Linked DNA regions of Homo sapiens: regions 1 and 2 are each linked to region 3. The links are contacts of gene promoters, found by promoter capture Hi-C in human tissues and cell types (Jung and others, 2019). All regions are on one chromosome and are shown on one strand. The core of a region is centred on a gene start or on the middle of the fragment in contact, and the rest is flanking DNA. Distances in the headings are between cores, read along the strand shown.

Region 1 (2,963 bases), core at 242-2,741, 57 kb before region 3:
AGCCACTTTATGAATTAATCAGTCAGCAGTGGCTAGGTTATGCTTAGTGGTTTATAACCAAATCTTAGTTTATAACAACAAATGTGTATTGTTAATTCCCACTACAAGTTTATAACGACATTGCTGGATGCTACACTCCATGTCTCTTTGTGGGACCCAGGCTCATGGGACTTCTGTTACCTGCATTAGAGAGAGAGAAGACAACAAAATATGCACTGGTTCTTGAAGCTTTGGCCCAGAAGTAAAATATGTCTTTTACCTGTTCACATTGCATTGGGCCAGGGCAATTATCATGGCTGCAAGTAACTTCAAAAGGATGGGGAAGTGCGATCTTGGCATGTGTCAGAAGAAATGAAAACATTTGGTGAAGAGCATTAATGACTGTCTTTACAGGAAAAAAGCAATCAAATAGACATGATTGCTTGTTTCAGTTTCATCATTTCCTACTGTGTTACCTAAACTTTCTGAGCCCCAGTTTCTTATTACTAAAATAAAATAAAGATGATATTCACTTCAAGGACTTTGTGTTAACTAGGGTAAAAAAATTGAAAACTAGTAAGTTATGCAAATTAGAAATGTATAATATTACTGCTTTGAAAGTGATGGTGAAATGTAGAATAATTGGAAGGATAACACAAAGCACTTATACCAGGAGGCTTTTAGCTGCAGATAATAGAAATGAACCTCCACTACTTTAATCAATAAAAAAGTGTATCAGCTCACAAATTTGTCATCCAGACATAAAGGAGGCTTCAGAATTTATTGACTCAGGAGTTGAATGTTGGTATCAAGGACCTAGATTTTTCTCATCACTCTGCACTTCAATTCTCAATGCCCTATTGAACATCAGGCTGTAGTAAGATGGCTAGAGTGATTCCAGGGATAACATCTAGAGATAAAAAAGAGAACTCCTTTTCTTATGATTTTTTTCTTAAGAGAAAAGGAATTTCCCAAAAGCCCCCAGCAAGCATGCCTTCACATCCCATGGCCAGAAGTGGCTCACATGTGTACCCTGAGCTAAGCACTGCAGACAGGAATGGAATCGCCTGTAGGCCTCAGAGACCACCTGGATCTTGGGAAGGTGTCAGCTCTACCTGTGGCACTTGGCTGAGTGGGAAAGGGATGGAAACATGAATAAAGTAAGAATTAGGAAGGAAAAGGAGAAATGGATCCAGGGTATGAAGCCAATAGTTTAGTTATCTCAACAAATATGATTGATTTCATCTTTATGAATGTGATGACCTAATTTAATACATTCAATCAATGAAGTAAAAAAAAGTGCAAGGACAATATGACATCTGTCATTCTCTGTTGAGATTTGAGAGGTAATAATACCAAGAACGTGTGGTGACCTGGGTCCTCACTGCTACTGTCTTCCTGTACCTGGACACTTCTAGCAAGAGACTTCAACTTCAGAACAAAGAGGATCCCAACTTGTAGCTGCATTATACACACCCCAGCAGCACACATAAGTTGATTTCTAATTATTCCTCTTTAAGAAATTGTTTGTGGAATATTTATCTATTTATAAATGGAAAAATAGAAAATTAAAATAACAAAAATAAGTAACACCATGTATTGAGTGTCTACTGCGTGCTAGGCACTGTGCTAAGTGTTCTGCATATATTGTCATTGTGCTGCCAACGACTCTGCAATAAAGATGTTCCCATTCCTACTTTACAGCTAAGGAAACCAAGGATCTGAGAAATAACGTATTTTGCCCAAGATTATCCAACTGGTAAAATCTGGAGTCCAAATTTGAACCAGAGTCCATTCAACACACTTTCACCTCTACACCAGTGCTTTCTGAGTTTGCTGAACATTAGAATCACCTCAGGAACTTAAAAAAAATTCCCAGGTGATACCCCATAGCAAGTAAATTAGAAAATCGGGCAGGGGAAGAGGAACCCTGGCATCAGTACTTTTTAAAGTCCCCAGGTACTTACAATGTGGAGGAAAGTTTGGGAACCACTGTGCTATATTATGTTGCCTCTTCAGCCAAGAATGTAAACCAGAATCTTTTCTTCCAAGGCCAAGAGCAGTGAATGATAGCTTATGGTATATACTCTCATTCCCAAGTGATCCTCTTCCTCAGGAGTTCTGCTTTAGGCTAACTAATTTCAAGTTTCCCTTTCACTACATTTCTCACCCATCTGAAGCTAAAAATGTTACAGGAGACATGCTGAATTTGTTGCTTTTTCTCTGTTATCTCTCCTTTTCAGAGCCGCCTCCCCTTACTTTACTTCACCTGCTAAAGTATCCCTGAACTCTGCCTTCTGGGGTTGAAAGTGGGATTTTAAATAAACTATAGATGGCTTCCTTTATTTGGTTATAATTATTTAAAATTTGAAGGAAGCATTGGTCATTTTTGGTGACTAGTCATTTTTGATGACTAAGTGTCATTTAAAGTTTCATTTCCTTTAAATTAACATTTTTTGTCATTCCATTCAAATGCCTACTTACAATGGCAATAAGAATATGCTATGAACACTTAACCACCCACACTAGAATTTTAAATCTAAGTTCTTCTCGAATGCTGTTTTGGTGAATTTCAGTGTGGGAGGTGAGATGATTTAAAGCTTCAGATTTTCTGTTATAGTCAAAGGCATAATTTATCTGACATCTTTTTTCATTCTGCCTAAGGAATTACACTAGAATAATGTTTTTAAATAAAATTTGTCCACATAATGACATTTTTTTCAATTCTATCCAAACTAAAATAGCTCCAAAGCGTTTACTTATCATAACTGTTAAGAAATTATACTTGCCAGGCATGGTAGCTCAAGCCTGTAATTCCAGCACTTTGGGAGGCTGAGATGGGTGACCTCCACTTGAGGTCAGGAGTTCGAAACCAGCCTGGCCAACATGGTAAAACCCCATCTCTACTAAAAATACAAAAAAATTAGCTGGGTGTGGTGGCAGGCGCCTGTAATCCCAGCTACTTGGGAGGCTGAGCCAGGAGA
Region 2 (2,700 bases), core at 128-2,627, 35 kb before region 3:
CTGCCTGATCAATAAAGACTGCTTCCAGCTGGATAAGGACATAGCCAAACACATTCTTCCACTATCAGTTCTTATCAGAGGACTTGGCAGTCATAAAACGACCAGGATGTCAGCAGCTCAAAACTTAACAGACACTGTCCTGCTGTCACTTGTGCTAAGCGCCCAGCATCTGCCACCAAAGGCTCTGCCCAGATCAAAGTCTCTTCCTTACAAGACCACTGGACCACCCGGGCCAAGCCAGGATTTCTTTTTGTCTACGTCACTCTCCCTGGACTGGTTCATTAACCTGTTTTCCTATCACTTTTCTTTTCTTTTTTTTTAATTATTTATTATTATTATTATTAATTATTATTATTATTATTTTGAGACAGAGTCTTGCTCTGTCACCCAGGCAGGAGTGCAGTGACATGATCTCAGCTCACTGCAATCTCCGCCTCCCAGCTTCAAGCAATTCTTCTGCCTCAGCCTCCCAAGTAGCTGGGACTACAGGTGCACGCCACCATGCCCAGCTTTTTTTTTTTTTTTTTTTGTATTTTCTTCATAAAGACAGGGTTTCACCATGTTGGGCAGGCTGGTCTTGAACTCCTGACTTCAGGTGATCCACCCGCCTCAGCCTCGCAAAGTGCTAGGATTACAGGCATGAGCCACTGTGCCCAGCTCCTTCTCTCTTGATGGTAAATGTTACTTTGTTTGTTGTGGAATGTTCAGTCTATAACATTCACATATTGGCTAGGTATACCACAATGTATGCTTTACAATACTGACTGCCTTGTGGAGTAGCTTGAGCCTGTGTGCCTGCGCTCTGACTTCTGAATGAATGGGAGGCACTAAGGAGAATTGCCTCCTTGGGAACTCCATGGAGCCCATGGCTTTTATTATTGAGATAGCATCAGTAAAAGCCTGACATTGTGGAATGACACAAACATGTGTGGACCTGGTTATCTCTGACCATGCGGTGCTCACGCTAATTTAAGGGCAGAGATGCTATTAATACAACCATGCCCTTCAATGTTCATCCCTGGAGGTCTGACCTTCTACTTAAACACCAGACCTAAAACTCTGGAATGCTTACGGTGCCTTCCACTTGAGCATGCTTCCAGTTTCCAAAACTCAGGAGATCTAGACCCAAACTCAATCTCTTCTGCAATTACTTCCTACCAGCATGATTTCTCCTATATACGCCATATCCAATCAATTACCAATTTCTACAGGTTGGGCTTTTTTGAAGTTGATTCTTCAGTTCATTCCCTCCCATCCTTCCTGCCCAGCTGGTCTTTCTCTGTTCCTCTTCATCTTCAATGTGGCACCAGAGCAATCTTCGGTATGGTCACTTTAGCATTAAGACTTTCCGTTCACTAGGCAATAATGCTAGCTAAATTACTCTGGAGTGTGGACGGTCTCACTTCGAAAGCTTGAGCTGGCTGTCTCACATTCTGATGACAGCTCCCCTTGTCCTCTCTTGTAACGTTGCTGTACCACCTGTTCTCGGTCTTCATTAAGACGTCAGTCCCTTGACCCTTCCAAGATGTCCCACATTGCCCTCCTGCCTTTGTTTTTTCCCCTGTTCAACCTGAATACCACCGTTGATCACCTCAGCCCCTCTGTGCTCAACACCTTGATGAGCTCTTCCCTACTTTCTCCACCACAACCCTCTGGGGTAACCTCAACCCCTGGGCCAGCCTTCTCTGTCCCTGGCCACTGAGCATGCTGCAGAAAGCCAGCAATTTGCATGGACAGATGACTCCAGACCTTACCACTGCCTGGCCCTTCTTCATCCTCCCATCCCTTCTCTTCCCCCTGTCCCAAAGTGACCACTTCAAGCCATCACTTCTCTGCAGATACACTCACTTCCTACTAAACAGAAAAAAATGGACGCTAAGAGGGAAAAAGCTCTAGGACTTGGAGCTCTCTACCTACCCAAAGCCCTCACAGAAGAGGTTATTTTCTTCCCCTGGGTCTGGAGCTCGCCCCCTCCCACCTCCTCAGTGCCTTCGTTCTCAAAAATTCTCCCCCTCCCTCCCAGGTCTCCAACTGCTCCCTCTGTCTATTGCCTCCCAAGGGCTTCCTCTAGCCATCATCCCAGCTGTCTCCCACTTTTCACAGCCATGTTTCTTGAAAGCGGGTTCTAGAGGACAGTCCCTGCTTCCTATTTTCTCTGTCACTCCCACATCTCTTTAGTATCTGTGTCTCACTAGAAGTAAACTTCCTGAGGGCAGAGACTATTTTATTCAGTCCTATACCCCTGGGACTTAGCATCCTCCTATCTGACAAATAGAAGGCACTCACTGTTTTTCACACGCATAGCCATGTGTGTTTCCGTGTATGTGCTGACATCTGAATCTCAAAACTGCCTAGGGATTGGATACAGCATGGATTATCAGCCTACACGTTGTTATATGAGAAAACAGATTGAAATGATGAAATAATTAGCTATTTACCCGGGAGGGACTTTCTATGTCTTATGCACTATCACAGATTGCCTGTATTACTAGAAAAAGAGAAAAGGGGAAGGAAACTGATTATGCGTCAAACCTCAACTAAAGGCTGCATGTAATGACACAGTCATCCTGGGAGGGGGCGTTATTGTACCATCTTTCAAGGTGGGAAACCAAGGCTCAAGGTGAAACCACCTGCACAAGGCTGGGCATGGTAGAAGCTAGGATTCAGATGCTGGCCTCGGGCGACACCAATGTTCCTTCT
Region 3 (2,721 bases), core at 189-2,688:
ACCTTGGTCTCCTGAGTAGCTGAGACCACAGGCATGCTCCACCCTGCCTGGCTACTTTTAAAATTGTTTGTAGAGTCAGGGTCTCACTATGTTGCCCAGGCCAGTCTTGAACTCCTGGGCTCAGGTGATCCTCCTGCTTTGGCCTCCTAAAGTGTTGGGATTGCAGACATAAGCCACCATGCCCAGCCAGGGAAATTATTTTCTTTCATGTTGCTTTTAACTTTAATGTTTTGAATAGATACTATCATGACACAGTTTAAAGATTTTTTAAAGTAAGACAGTATTCAGTGAAATGTCCTCTTCTAACCCCCACCCCAATGCCCTGGCCAGTCATGGGTTCTTTAAAAAAAAAAAAAAGTCAGCAATGGAAAGCATGGCCAGACCACAGGGTGAGGTTCTTTCTCTCAGAGCAGTGATTTTGCAGCATGGTGTGGGAATCTCATGGTCTTGCAGGTGGGCAAAGCCCACTTCTAGAATCCGGCTGTGGTCAGGTCACCACCTGCCTGCTCACTGTGTCTCCAGCCTCGCATTTGCATGTATTTGTTTCAGTATGTCTTTTGAGAGTCTTCTACGTATCAACCTTCCACAAAATTCTGAAAATTTCTGTGTGTGTATGTGTGTGTTTGCAATGGAAATAAAAAGCGTCCATGAATTTTATCTTTCCAAGTAGTCTGGAACACAACCCCACAAAACCTCACAGCCAAAGGTACCTGCCTGCTTGTTTTCCTAGAGAGAAGCCTTCCCGCCACACCCACACTCAGGTTTGCACCTGAACCATGGAAACCTCGCCGAGAAAGGCCTGGGGTGATTTAGCCCGGTGATTAGCTCTTGCAAACTAGCCCTTAAGTCGGGAACCTGGGACCAGGACAAACAGCACACTGTCTGTTACCATTATTTAGGCAAATTCTTCCAGGAAGCAAACTCATTTTTTTTAAAGAGAAAAAGTACAGAAAAAAATTGATTTAAGAAGACTGAGTTCATGAACAATTTGAATATGAACTACTTGACAATAATGCCATTTAATTATTGTTAAGAACACACAACTACCCAAAAGCATTACTGATAAAATATAATTCCAAATACCACATTCCTCGGCCAAGACAGCACCTAAGAACACCATGAGGAGCAGCATCTGGGGCCACGCTGGGTGCCTGCCCTGCCCAACTGGGCTTAACGCACATGCTCCCGGGACAAATGGAATTCTGGCACCCAATGCACGGACTCTGATGGAGGAGGTCCTACTCACCATTCTCCCGAGTTTGGGATCCATTAGGCTGGAGTTCTGAAGCCTCTAGCAACTTTCCCAACCTCCAAAAAATGTGGCAGAGGGAGTCCCATGAAAGCCCCAAGAGGGTGACATTAAATATCTCTCTGTGCCCTGACCCACGTTGTCCCCCGGAAGGAAGACGAGGCTGGTATAGTGGAGCTATTCACATCTGGAGAACAAAGCGGCTTCGGAGGTATTCATTCAGCTCAACTGCAGAGGAAGAGACAATGCATCTCATACGCGCAGATACGGGATGAGGCAGTGGCCCCAAAGTCATGTGATGTCACTGGAAGCCAGCAGCCTGGCCCAGCCTGCGACTCCTCGGGTTCTTCTTTGGGGGCACTTGTGTGTCATCTCTGAGAGGGAGTAGGGCCCCGGCCAGCAGGCAGAGCTGAGCCAGCGGCACAGCCCCCTCAGGTGACAGCCCCCTCACATGACAGGCCCCCACACACTGTGGCTGTGGGCCCTTGTGATGGAATGTTACGGCCGAGGATTAGCTTCCTAGGGCTGTGCAGGGGCCGAGGGTAGAGTTTTCCCAGCTCTCTGAAGGTTCGCTGCAAAATCAGCTTGCAAAGGGCAGTTGAATTGGAGAAGAGGCATAACAGATTGATTTGCTCCTAGTTTTAAGTGACATGGGAGCCTTCAGAAGGAAGGACCAATCCCTAATGGGGTTGGGAAGCTGAGACACCCTCTTGAGGTTCCACAAGGAGTGGCGGCTTAGATTCTCGCGCAACAGGTTATGGGAGGAGAAAAGAGGACTTCAGCTGAGGGCAATCAGCGCTCACGAGGGAGGATTCAGTGGGCTTGAAGAGCACGCCACGGTCTTCGTTCAAGTCTGCTGGGCCCCGGAGCAGACAATGGTCTTGACAAGTCTGTCCAGCGTGTTCGGTGTCAGCCTTCCTTCCTGAGATATGGGTTCAGTTAACGAAAACTCAGGGAAGGGACTAGAGGTCATTCCTTTCTTCTTTGGTGGGTCAGACTTGAAGGAGATAAGGACACTTCAGGAACTCTGGGAGAGATGGTGGGGGTGGGGGAGCCGAGAGGCCTTGAAGTTCCTTTTCAGTTCAGCTTGAACAAAGCACCATATTTTGGGGTATTGGCTTCTGAGCCCCAACATCTGCTCTAACAAAAGTACCCTACACTGGGTGGCTTAAGCAACAGAAATCGGTCTCAATTCTGGAGACTGGAAGTCTGAGATGAAGGTATGGGCAGGGCAGGTTTCTCCTGAGGCTGAGCGGGAAGGGCGTGCTCCAGGCCTTGACCCGCGTGGCTGCTGGCCGTCCTTGGTGTCCCTTGTCTTGTACAAGCATCACCCGATCTCTGCCCTCATCTTCTTATGATGTTCTCCCTGTGTATGTGTGTGTGTCCAGATTGTCCCTTCTCATAAGGACACAGTTGTGTGTAATCAGGGGTCCATCCTATGCCCATGTGACCTTATCTAAAGATAAGTAATT

What was found. The method cuts DNA at HindIII sites, captures the fragments that hold promoters and counts their contacts. A contact is called where the count stands out against the background at its distance.
Region 1: a contact is called between a fragment that was not itself captured here and the fragment with the promoter of CNDP1 in region 3, in 1 of the 25 tissues and cell types used here (aorta).
Region 2: a contact is called between a fragment that was not itself captured here and the fragment with the promoter of CNDP1 in region 3, in 1 of the 25 tissues and cell types used here (spleen).

Annotation. Positions count from the first base shown.
Region 1 is chr18:74,590,380-74,593,342 of GRCh38, reverse strand. ZNF407-AS1 (ZNF407 antisense RNA 1) reads left to right here. Exons shown (of 2, transcript NR_024484.1): 2 at 1-1,569. Among named protein-coding and RNA genes, the nearest start is that of ZNF407-AS1, 6.0 kb to the left of the region's middle. The HindIII fragment of the contact is 5,535 bases long and covers 1-2,963 here.
Region 2 is chr18:74,567,863-74,570,562 of GRCh38, reverse strand. The region is part of intron 6 of CNDP1 (carnosine dipeptidase 1); the gene reads right to left. Among named protein-coding and RNA genes, the nearest start is that of ZNF407-AS1, 29 kb to the left of the region's middle. The HindIII fragment of the contact is 3,145 bases long and covers 1-2,700 here.
Region 3 is chr18:74,533,217-74,535,937 of GRCh38, reverse strand. CNDP1 (carnosine dipeptidase 1) reads right to left here and starts at 1,438. Exons shown (of 12, transcript NM_032649.6): 1 at 1,247-1,438. The coding sequence starts at 1,270. The HindIII fragment of the contact is 24,351 bases long and covers 1-2,721 here.